Linked DNA regions of Homo sapiens: region 1 is linked to region 2. The links are contacts of gene promoters, found by promoter capture Hi-C in blood cells and fetal thymus (Javierre and others, 2016). All regions are on one chromosome and are shown on one strand. Each heading gives the region's core, a stretch centred on a gene start or on the middle of the fragment in contact. The rest is flanking DNA. Distances are from core to core; before and after follow the strand shown.

Region 1 (4,487 bases), core at 15-2,514, 640 kb after region 2:
TTGTATAAAACATATATTTATTCTGTATCTGTTCAGGAGACAAAGCTAGAATCTATAGGTGGAAACAACGTAATACCATCCTAATGATATTAACTGTTTAAACATTGCATGGGTTGTCTTTTCTTCTATAACCTCCTAAGTGTCTATGACATAAGAAGCTGTCCTTGGGTAACTGCTAGTTCTGCTTAGATCTGTGTTATGATTTGAGAAATATTAAGGGATTTTCTTCTTCTTTCAAAATACCTTTTACCACTAGGACTTCTGCAGACCTTTAGACGCCCACGCTGTGTACAGCATTAGAGCAGGGTTGCTCAACCTCAGCTCTGCTGACATTTTGGACCAGATCATTCTTTGCTGTGGGAGCTGTCCTGGGCACTGTAGGATGTTTGGCAGCATTGCTGGCTTTTACCAACTAGATGCCAGAAATAGCCCTCCCCCAGCCGTGACAATGAAAGAAGTCTCCAGACATTGCCAAAAGTGCCCTGAAGGACAAAATCACCACAAATTAATAACTACTGCTTTAGGGAAAGGCATTAAGTTTCTTGCTAAAATGCAAATGTATTTTAACTGAGGTATTCCAAGCTGAAGGATGGCATGATACAAAGATGGGCATGATGGAGACCCACATGCAGTGTTTTCTTGGAGAAGTAGTTTGGTGTATCTGGCTCATGGTGCATGTGTGGGAGGAAGGTGAAAGGTGGTGATGGGCAGTAGCCTTATTCTGCACATGGACCGACTTCAGTGTCAGGCAGGAAGTGGGTACTAACTTTGTTAGGCAAGTGAGTATCACTAATGACATTTGGGTAGGAGAGTGCATGTCAAATTGCCACTTTGGGAAGATACATCTTATGGTGGTGTGTGGGGTGACTGGGATGTGTAAGGTATTAGTTAGCATTTATTACTAGCAGAGAAATGATGATGACCTAACCTAGGGTGATGGTTAAGTGGACCTGGGAAAGGAGGCAGCAGGTGAGGACTATTAAATAGGAAGTATAATTGAATAGTTATAGAGTGTGAGGTATGGGCAAGGATGATCCTGAAGTTTCAAATATGGATTAAAAAGATAAAGTTAATTTCCTTACAAATAGAGGAAGAAGGAGCAGCCATGCTGGTGGAGAGGATGATAGAGTCATGAATAGACACCAAGTTCCTAAGGAAGAAGATACAGAAATGGATGGAGATTTACCATAGGCAAAAGAGTTTCCTTCATAGCACTGTGTGTCTGAAAAAAAGAAAAAAACCTCGTAGAAAACCATTCTTAATGTTTGTGCAGAGCCAAAAGTAGTCAAAATAGCTCATTCTTTGATCTACCTATCTCATCATTTATTGAAATCTAAAACAAATACAAAATAGGTAATAGAGCATGAATGTGACAACTCTACAGTGTTTTTTTCTTTATTTAGCATATATGTAAATTTTGATAAATAATGTTATTTCCCTTCATCCACCTGAGTTAGTAAAAGGTATTTACTTGCTTTCAAACTTGAGCTGTCTTCTCTTGTTGCAGGACTTCACTGCTGCTTAGGGAGCTACTTACTGATTAGCACTGAGTGTGCATTTCATGGTAGTTGTGTTACAGTGGTTCTTGATTGCCTTCTGTTGTTGGTGGTAATTTTCCACTGATCTTTTCCAATTATGAATTCCATGAAGATTGCTTCTGGTTTTTGTTCCCAAGACCAATTTTGGTCTTATTCCAGATAAAACAGACATTCAATTTACCGTTTACCCACTCTTTACTCACTGTTTTCCATGGAAATATTCTTCACAAAGCCTGTATGAAGAGTTTTAGGATAAAGTGCAATTACTAATATTTTGTATTTGGCAAACTCAGTCCTTAAGCTGTTTAGTCTCTGTGTATTTCTGCAGAGCCCCAGTGGAGTCTGACATAGCTTTCCTTCTCTAGAGTTCATGAAAATTCTTGCCTGATCACCTCAGCTAGCTGAGAATCACCCCTTTTCTGACATGTAAAGTACATGTAACCACTTTCTATGTCATTATGGTATGCATTTTGATACAAAAATTTCTCTTCTATTAAAAAATCTCCTATTAGTCTTAAGCTCCTTAGGAATATGGACTTTTATCTCCCCTTCTCCTCCACTTTTCCCCCACCCCTTCAACTCACACACATAGTTTAGCCAGCCTGAGGCAATATGGCATCATGATACTCATCTGATGAGAAATGAACAAGTGGATATTCATCAAAAGAAATGAACAAGTGGATATTCATCAAGTTACTTTTGTAAGTTGATCTTTCTTGATACAGATCAGTTGCCCAGTGCCAAAACACAAAGTAGTCAAAGCCATGTTATAGAGGGGTAAAATAACAAGACCGTGTTTAAGACTATTTAGAGTAGTAAAAATAATTTGGTAGATGTAAAGTGGTACCCCAAAATTTGCATTTCTGTTTCCCAACATGCTGATGCTGCTGGTCCAGGGATCACATTTTGAGAACAACTGCCCTAAGCTGAGTTTTACATGAGTGATATAAGTTTCTCGTTAGCCTTTTCTGTCACATAACTGTACTGCAACTCTTTTGTATTGTCAGTTGATGAAGAATGTGTGCAAAAATATGGATTACAAGGTATGCTACCCAGGAAGTATTCAGTGAATTGAAGCTTTATTATTGCTAGTAGGGTCTGGCATTCGTATTTTTGTATGCATTCATTTTGCAGAGATTCATTAAATCTCCTGTCTCTGCTAGAAAATGTAGATAGAATAGTGAGCAAAATATTGTCCTCATGGAGCCTGTTATATATTGAATAAAAAGCACAGTAAGTGGGCAATTATAAAGTTCAAAGACCTGGTTTCCATGTCAGTTTTGCTTCATGATCTATGTTCTTGGACAGGCTCTTACTTTCCACATCTGTGATGTGGTGATGAGAATAATACTTGCATAGTTGCCAAGAGTTAAATGGGGCATCATATATATAAGTGCTATGTATGCTATTAAGTGCTACTCAAATGTGAGGTACAAAAAAATAAGAATCATCCCAGTGCATGTAGGAGAGATCATGGTAGATGGAATGAAATAGATGATTGGAAGGCATTGCGATGATTACTTATGGGCACATTTTAAGCACCTACAACACCTAAGTATACTTGTTATCCACATGGTACATTAGCCTCCCTTGTTAAGAGGCAGGGATTTAATTTGTAATTATCATATTGTAAAGGGCATGGGTGACTATCTTTTCAAATTGTTGCTTAGGAACTCAGAATTTATTAGACACTTGGACACTTCTTCAGCCAAGAGGTTACAAATTAAAAACCTGAAGGTGCGAGCAAATAAAAGAAGGTGATTTTTTGATATATATGAGATGATTTGACGATTTCTTTTCTATTTACTTTTGAAAGCCTTAGTGAACTTATCTGGGGAGAAATATATTTGCTTTTCACAGAAAGCAAAATCTAGTTCAAGGACGGTTTCTTTAGATGAAAATTATGTTTAGGCTTACATAATCCTAACGATGACCACTTTTCTTTTGACCTCTTTTCTAAGGTGTTATGTATTAAGCATGTGAGTAAGCATTTTGGTGAGCTGCAGTTACTCTTGAAGGGGTCACCACCACCATCACTATTGGAAGAAAGGTGACTCTTCCATTACCCTGGATTTGTGAATCGTATTTCAAATTTGAATGTGTTTTGCTTTTCCCCTCACTGTTGTATCTTTTGGTGTGGGATGTTTTGCCATGGAAAGAAGGAGAAAGAAGCAGGATGCAGTGGGCATACACTTAATTGGGGCTGAAGGACGTGAGGGCCCCTGTCCAGCCCACCATTCTGTGCCCTGGACAGCCCCTTAATGTGTTAGTGCCTTGGGTTGCATGTCTGAGTTGAATTCCATGAACTGAGTTTCGTTTCCTGAGAAAAGAAAAGTTTGAGAGAGAATCAAATTAACTGTTTAAATTCACGAAATCTTTTGAACAAAAGGGTAGTGGCCACTTGCTTTCTAAATATATCATAAAGGGGTCAAGAGGAAGTAGCTAGCAATAAGATAATGTATGTAATGACAAATGCCTTGGAAGTGGAAGTTAGTACATATCAGGACAGACTATGTATGGTTTATGTATCACATACAATTCATTAAAACTAGAACAGACTCTTTCTTTCCATCTCTGTTACTTCTATCCTTTTTTCTTTGGCTATGGGAATTTTATCAAGTTTGGATGGTGCAGGCTGTGTACATTCCCCAGGCATGGGTTTTGGAACACAGGGGATCTGACTGTGGAATCAAGTTCCATCTCTTAGAAGCTCAGATTTTTATCTATAAAATGGAGATGAAGGTTACCTTTGAGGGTAGTCACAGTCTGTATCAGTCAGGGTTCTCCAGAGAAACAGAGCCAATAGAGAGTTATTTTAAGGAATTGGCTCATGTGATTTTGGAGGCTGGCAAGTCTGAAATCTGCAGGGCAGGTCGGCAACTGCTCAGGCAGGAGTTGGTGTTGCTGCCTGGAGACAGACTTTCTTCTTCTTCAGGAAAGCTCAGTTTT
Region 2 (4,592 bases), core at 652-3,151:
GTGCTTAGGGAAGGGTGCACACCTGCTCAGCTGAAGCAGGCCTGGTAACTTTTCACGGAGGAGTGCCACACGCTGAAATAATTATGCACAGAGCCACAGCTGAGTGGAGGAGTGAGGTCTTAGGTCATACACGTGTGTCTAAATCTGTGATCTATGTTTATCATCTGACCCGGCATCAGCCAGGAGAGTCAGAATTAAGTCCCCCACAACCCAAGCCTGCACCATCAGTCTTTAAACATGAGCTTCTTTTTTCCAGATCTCTAAAGGGGTCACAAATTATCGGAGGTAAAGTTGAGATCTTGTATGTCCAGGCCAAAAGGCAGCCCTGGGATGTTAACTCCTTTCCGTTCCTCCCAGAAATACTGGGGTGGAAAAATCCGTGATCATATTGCCATCTATAGCCCCTACCTCAGCCAACACCTCCATCTCATCCTGCCTCCCCTAAAACTGAGGACATGTTTCCAAAATTTCCTCTGTAAGCACTGTATTCAGAGGAACCCTAAAGGCAGTGCCAAGATTCTTTGGGAGAGAAAGAGAAATACAATTCTCTTTTCCAGGGTCACACTTACAAATTCTCTTTTACACTATTTCTAAAAAGAACAACTTGGTTTTAAGACACTGTACACTACCTTGTCATGATCCAGATCTACATGAAAACTTTTCTCAGGTGGTGATTATTGAATGATAGTAGCCTATTTAAAAATATGTAAGACACTGAGTTTACTCCTCTGTAAAAAGGAATTGAACTAGAGGAAGTATTTAAGGTTTTTCCAGATCTAAAGTGCAGGCAAGCCATAATTTCCAGATTCTAAGAACGACCCCCTGCATATGTGAGCAAATCACATGCTGTCTATACCACAGCAAGCCTTCAGGATAATAAGAATGTGCATAGTAACACACGGCTTCCAGCCCTCTGCCTCCTGAAGAAAGGCATATAGAAAGCATGCTTACCTACGGAGGGGGGACAAAACTGATTGTTTTACTCCTATGTTTTTCCTTCAGAAAAACTATCCATAATTTTACAGTTGACTACTTTTATTCTGCTTATTTTGAGTTGAATCATTTGCATTGCTCATATTTAAAAATCTAATAACCACTCTACAGACTAATAAGCACAGACAAAAAAAAAATCACACTCAGTTCTTAATCACTGATGAATTTCAACCCACCGCTCCTACATACAATTGTAAAGAAAGGCTTAGTTTTCAGGTCATAAATCATGTAGGACAACAGCATCCCCAAGCATCAACCAAGGCAAACACTGTAAATACTGACCATGGCTACTCCAAAGACAGAATCCCATTCAACCCTGGGTCCACAGCTAAGGTTGGCACATGATAAAAAGTATAAAAAGCCAGGTTGGAGCCCACCACATTCTCTCAGTGAGCTAAAGCCAAGAGCAGAGAGCTGTGAGTACATTTTATATAGAGGACCGTGAAAGTGTGCAGATTCACTCAGAGACCCCCAAATCAGAAAAAGTGAGGCACACTCTGGAGCAAACCAGCCCCCAGATCCAAATCAAAGCTGTGTAGGGCATGAATGTCGCTCCACTTACCCAGCATAGCGGTTGTTATAAAGGTGGCTGTGCCCCGGTTGCAGAATCTTCAAAAAGAGCCAGCAAAGAGGCAGGAAAGCAGCTGCCTGGCCCCTGCGCTTCCCGAGACACTTCATAGTGTTAAGAAGAGAGGAGTTGAAAGTTACTTAAGCAGCCACCCGAGGCTGGAGGTGGCTCACAGCACCCTCTACACACCGCACAGGTTCTCCGGGAAGGGGGTGGGCGAGGAAGGTTGAGAGTGAGCAAAATGTGACACTTCTCTCCAGCTACAAGGGAAAAAAAAAGTTCAGGCAGCTGAGGAAGGGAAGTTGCTATTACGACTTGGTCTTGGGACAAGCAGCAGCAGCAGCAGCAGCAGCTGAGCCTGATCTTTAATCAGGCTCCCCTAGAAAGGGCTGGGCCTCCCTCGTGCTGACTCACGGCAGGGGTTCACTGGGTGCTGCTTCCTTTGGGTGACTCCTCTCTGCTTTTGGTTTGTTTGCTTTCCCAACTTGAGGCCTCTAACTTTTCTGTGCAAGCTTTCTTTCTCTATCTTCTTCAGCATGAGGATCCTACCTAATTGCAAATGATTTGTCTGATGGGCTAAACAAGCAGACATGGATTATTCCAAGCTTAATGTTTTTTTGATCTCCCATGACAGATTCCTAAACGGATTCCACCTAATGAAATGCACAATGAACAATCATGATGAGAACGTGCACGGGGGTACCTATAGCACCCAGATCCGAACAGCTGGCTTCAGTTCACTGCTCCTGACTTACAGGAGTGGTCAGTGGCTTTATTGGGCTTCAGGGAGATCTTGGTACTCATTCTGCATCAGCAGCACCCAGACCTGCTGCTGTTTCAGAGGTTCTCGTGGGGAATAGGAGGCCTTCGAGTGCTTTGCCACCTTGGCTGTACATTTGGAATCATTTAGGGAGCCAGACCTTGAAAATAGAAACCGTGGTGGTGGGATCAGTGGTTTAAAAAGCTCCTTAGGTGATTCCAATATTCAACCACCATGCTGGTCTGGAGCAGGGCTTCTCAGAGCTCCACATGCATAGAAGTCACCTGGGGATCTCATTAAACTGCAGCTCTGACGTAGGTTGGAACAGGGGCCTAAGAGTTTTTATTTTTCTTTTTTGAGACAGAGTTTCGCTCTTGTTGCCCAGGCTGGATGGAGTGCCAAGTCCCCATCTCGGCTCACTGCAACCTCCGCCTCCCAGGTTCAAGCGATTCTCCTGCCTCAGCCTCCTGAGTAGCTCGGATTACAGGTGCCTACCACCACGCCCAGCTAATTTTTGTATTTTTAGTAGAGACGAGGTTTCCCCATGTCGGTCAGGCTGGTCTTGAACTCGTGACCTCAGGCAATCTGCTTGTCTCGGCCTTGCGAAGTGCTGGGATTACAGGTGTGAGCCACCACGCCTGGCCGAGTCTGCATTTCTAAAGAAGCTTCCAGGTGATGCTGGTGCCACTGGCTCTTCAGCCACACTTGGAGTAGCAAGACTTCACTTTAGAATGAGGTCTGCTTTTTCTTCCAAGCAAACCTTGGAGAAAACCATTTCCTTCTCTTTTTTCCCATGTTGATGATGAAAGCTTTTTAAAATTATTATTTGCATCCACTTGCTCCTATTCCAATACGCCACAAAACCCATTACAGGGGATGTGCCTCGCCCTATTAAATAAGCATAGGCACCTAGGGTGCCTCCTGTTACCTTTCATGCCCAGTCCTGGTTGTGCTCTAAAACAGAGAGTGAGCCACTATTTCCTCATCACACTCACAAAACTTTTCAGGCTTCCTGGAGAGTCATAGCCAAGAACTCCTGTACCCTCTAATACTATAGCCAGAGTCCCTGTTAGAAGAGAGAGCACCCAATCTTTCCCATCTTCTCTACCTGGGGAGTTGAACCAAAACTCCTTTGACAGATTCAATGTCAGGTTCATGAAACAGCTGAAATGGTTTTCATTTGAAATGATGCTCTGAATTTTTCTGCAACTTTCTCAGCATCAGTTTGGTTAATGCCTCCTCTGTGTCCCTCACAAATCCTGGCATGTCCTCTACTGTAGGAATTACCACATCAAATTTCTTGTCTGGTTTCCTCATGAGGCTGCTTTCTCCTTGAATACAGAACTGTATCCTTTTGGTCTTCCTGTGCACTTCCTTATACCTCCTCGAGGGAATACAATGTTTCCTGAAGGAGTGATCAACGATGTCTGTTGGATGAACGATGAACCAGGGAAGAAATTCATTTAACAAACATTAACATAGATGCTTCTGTGTCCAGATAGAGGAGAGAGCACCTTGGGAGCAGAGAACACTATGGGTGCTTTTGGAGAGTGGAAGTTCCCCGGGTGATCATGTCTGGTTTCGTTTCTTTTTTATGTTGCCTTCTTTCCTGACTTCCTGGCCTTGTACTTTTGTCTTCCTAAACTGGTCAGGCTGCTCTGCAAGACTCACAGCAGTACTCACAGGCCTTTTAGATGAGCCCAGGAAAGCCAATGATCTGTGGAAATAAGAGGTTACTGTGTAAATAAAACACTTCATCTCTTTGCATTTCGCTATGTCAGAACAATGTATAAATCTGTCATATTATATCACAACATTAAACTAGGAATGTTCAGTCTCTGACTGAGAATTAAACTCATCCTCAAATCATTCTGAAGGATTGGATCCCGCAAGCATGTTCGGCAGAGGCTCTCCAGACTCTGAGACCAAAGGAATCATTTCCTGGACCATCAAAAATGCCAGAAACTCCGGTGACATCCTGTAACCTTCCTAAAAATTTCAGATCAAAGAGAGGTTCTCAAACAATAGAAGCCATACCTAGCAATCATTCTCTGTTTTACTAAGGACCAGGTTATCTGATCAAACTTCTCTTGGAGTAGATAAGCTCCCATAAAATGAGAGATAAATGGAGTCCATTTAGCAAATGGGAGGAGGAGGGAACAGTTTTATAGATGAATTCAAAGATAAAAGTTCCATTTTTAAGGCACTGAGAGGGAGTGAATTATTAAACCAGCTAGGGATTTGGAGATGGGAAGATGAGAAGTTCTATTT

Evidence for each region. Contacts are between HindIII fragments. The CHiCAGO score rates a contact against its expected background, and 5 or more counts as called.
Region 1: a fragment that was not itself captured here is called in contact with the fragment with the promoter of CPA6 in region 2 in 1 of 17 cell types (M0 macrophages); the score reaches 5.4 in M0 macrophages.

Annotation. Positions count from the first base shown.
Region 1 is chr8:68,386,446-68,390,932 of GRCh38, forward strand. All of the region lies in intron 1 of C8orf34 (chromosome 8 open reading frame 34), which reads left to right. Among named protein-coding and RNA genes, the nearest start is that of C8orf34-AS1, 57 kb to the left of the region's middle. The HindIII fragment of the contact is 2,697 bases long and covers 1-2,613 here.
Region 2 is chr8:67,744,459-67,749,050 of GRCh38, forward strand. It overlaps CPA6 (carboxypeptidase A6), which reads right to left and starts at 1,902. Exons shown (of 11, transcript NM_020361.5): 1 at 1,556-1,902. The coding sequence starts at 1,671. RefSeq lists an enhancer at 1,728-2,228. The HindIII fragment of the contact is 5,003 bases long and covers 1-2,071 here.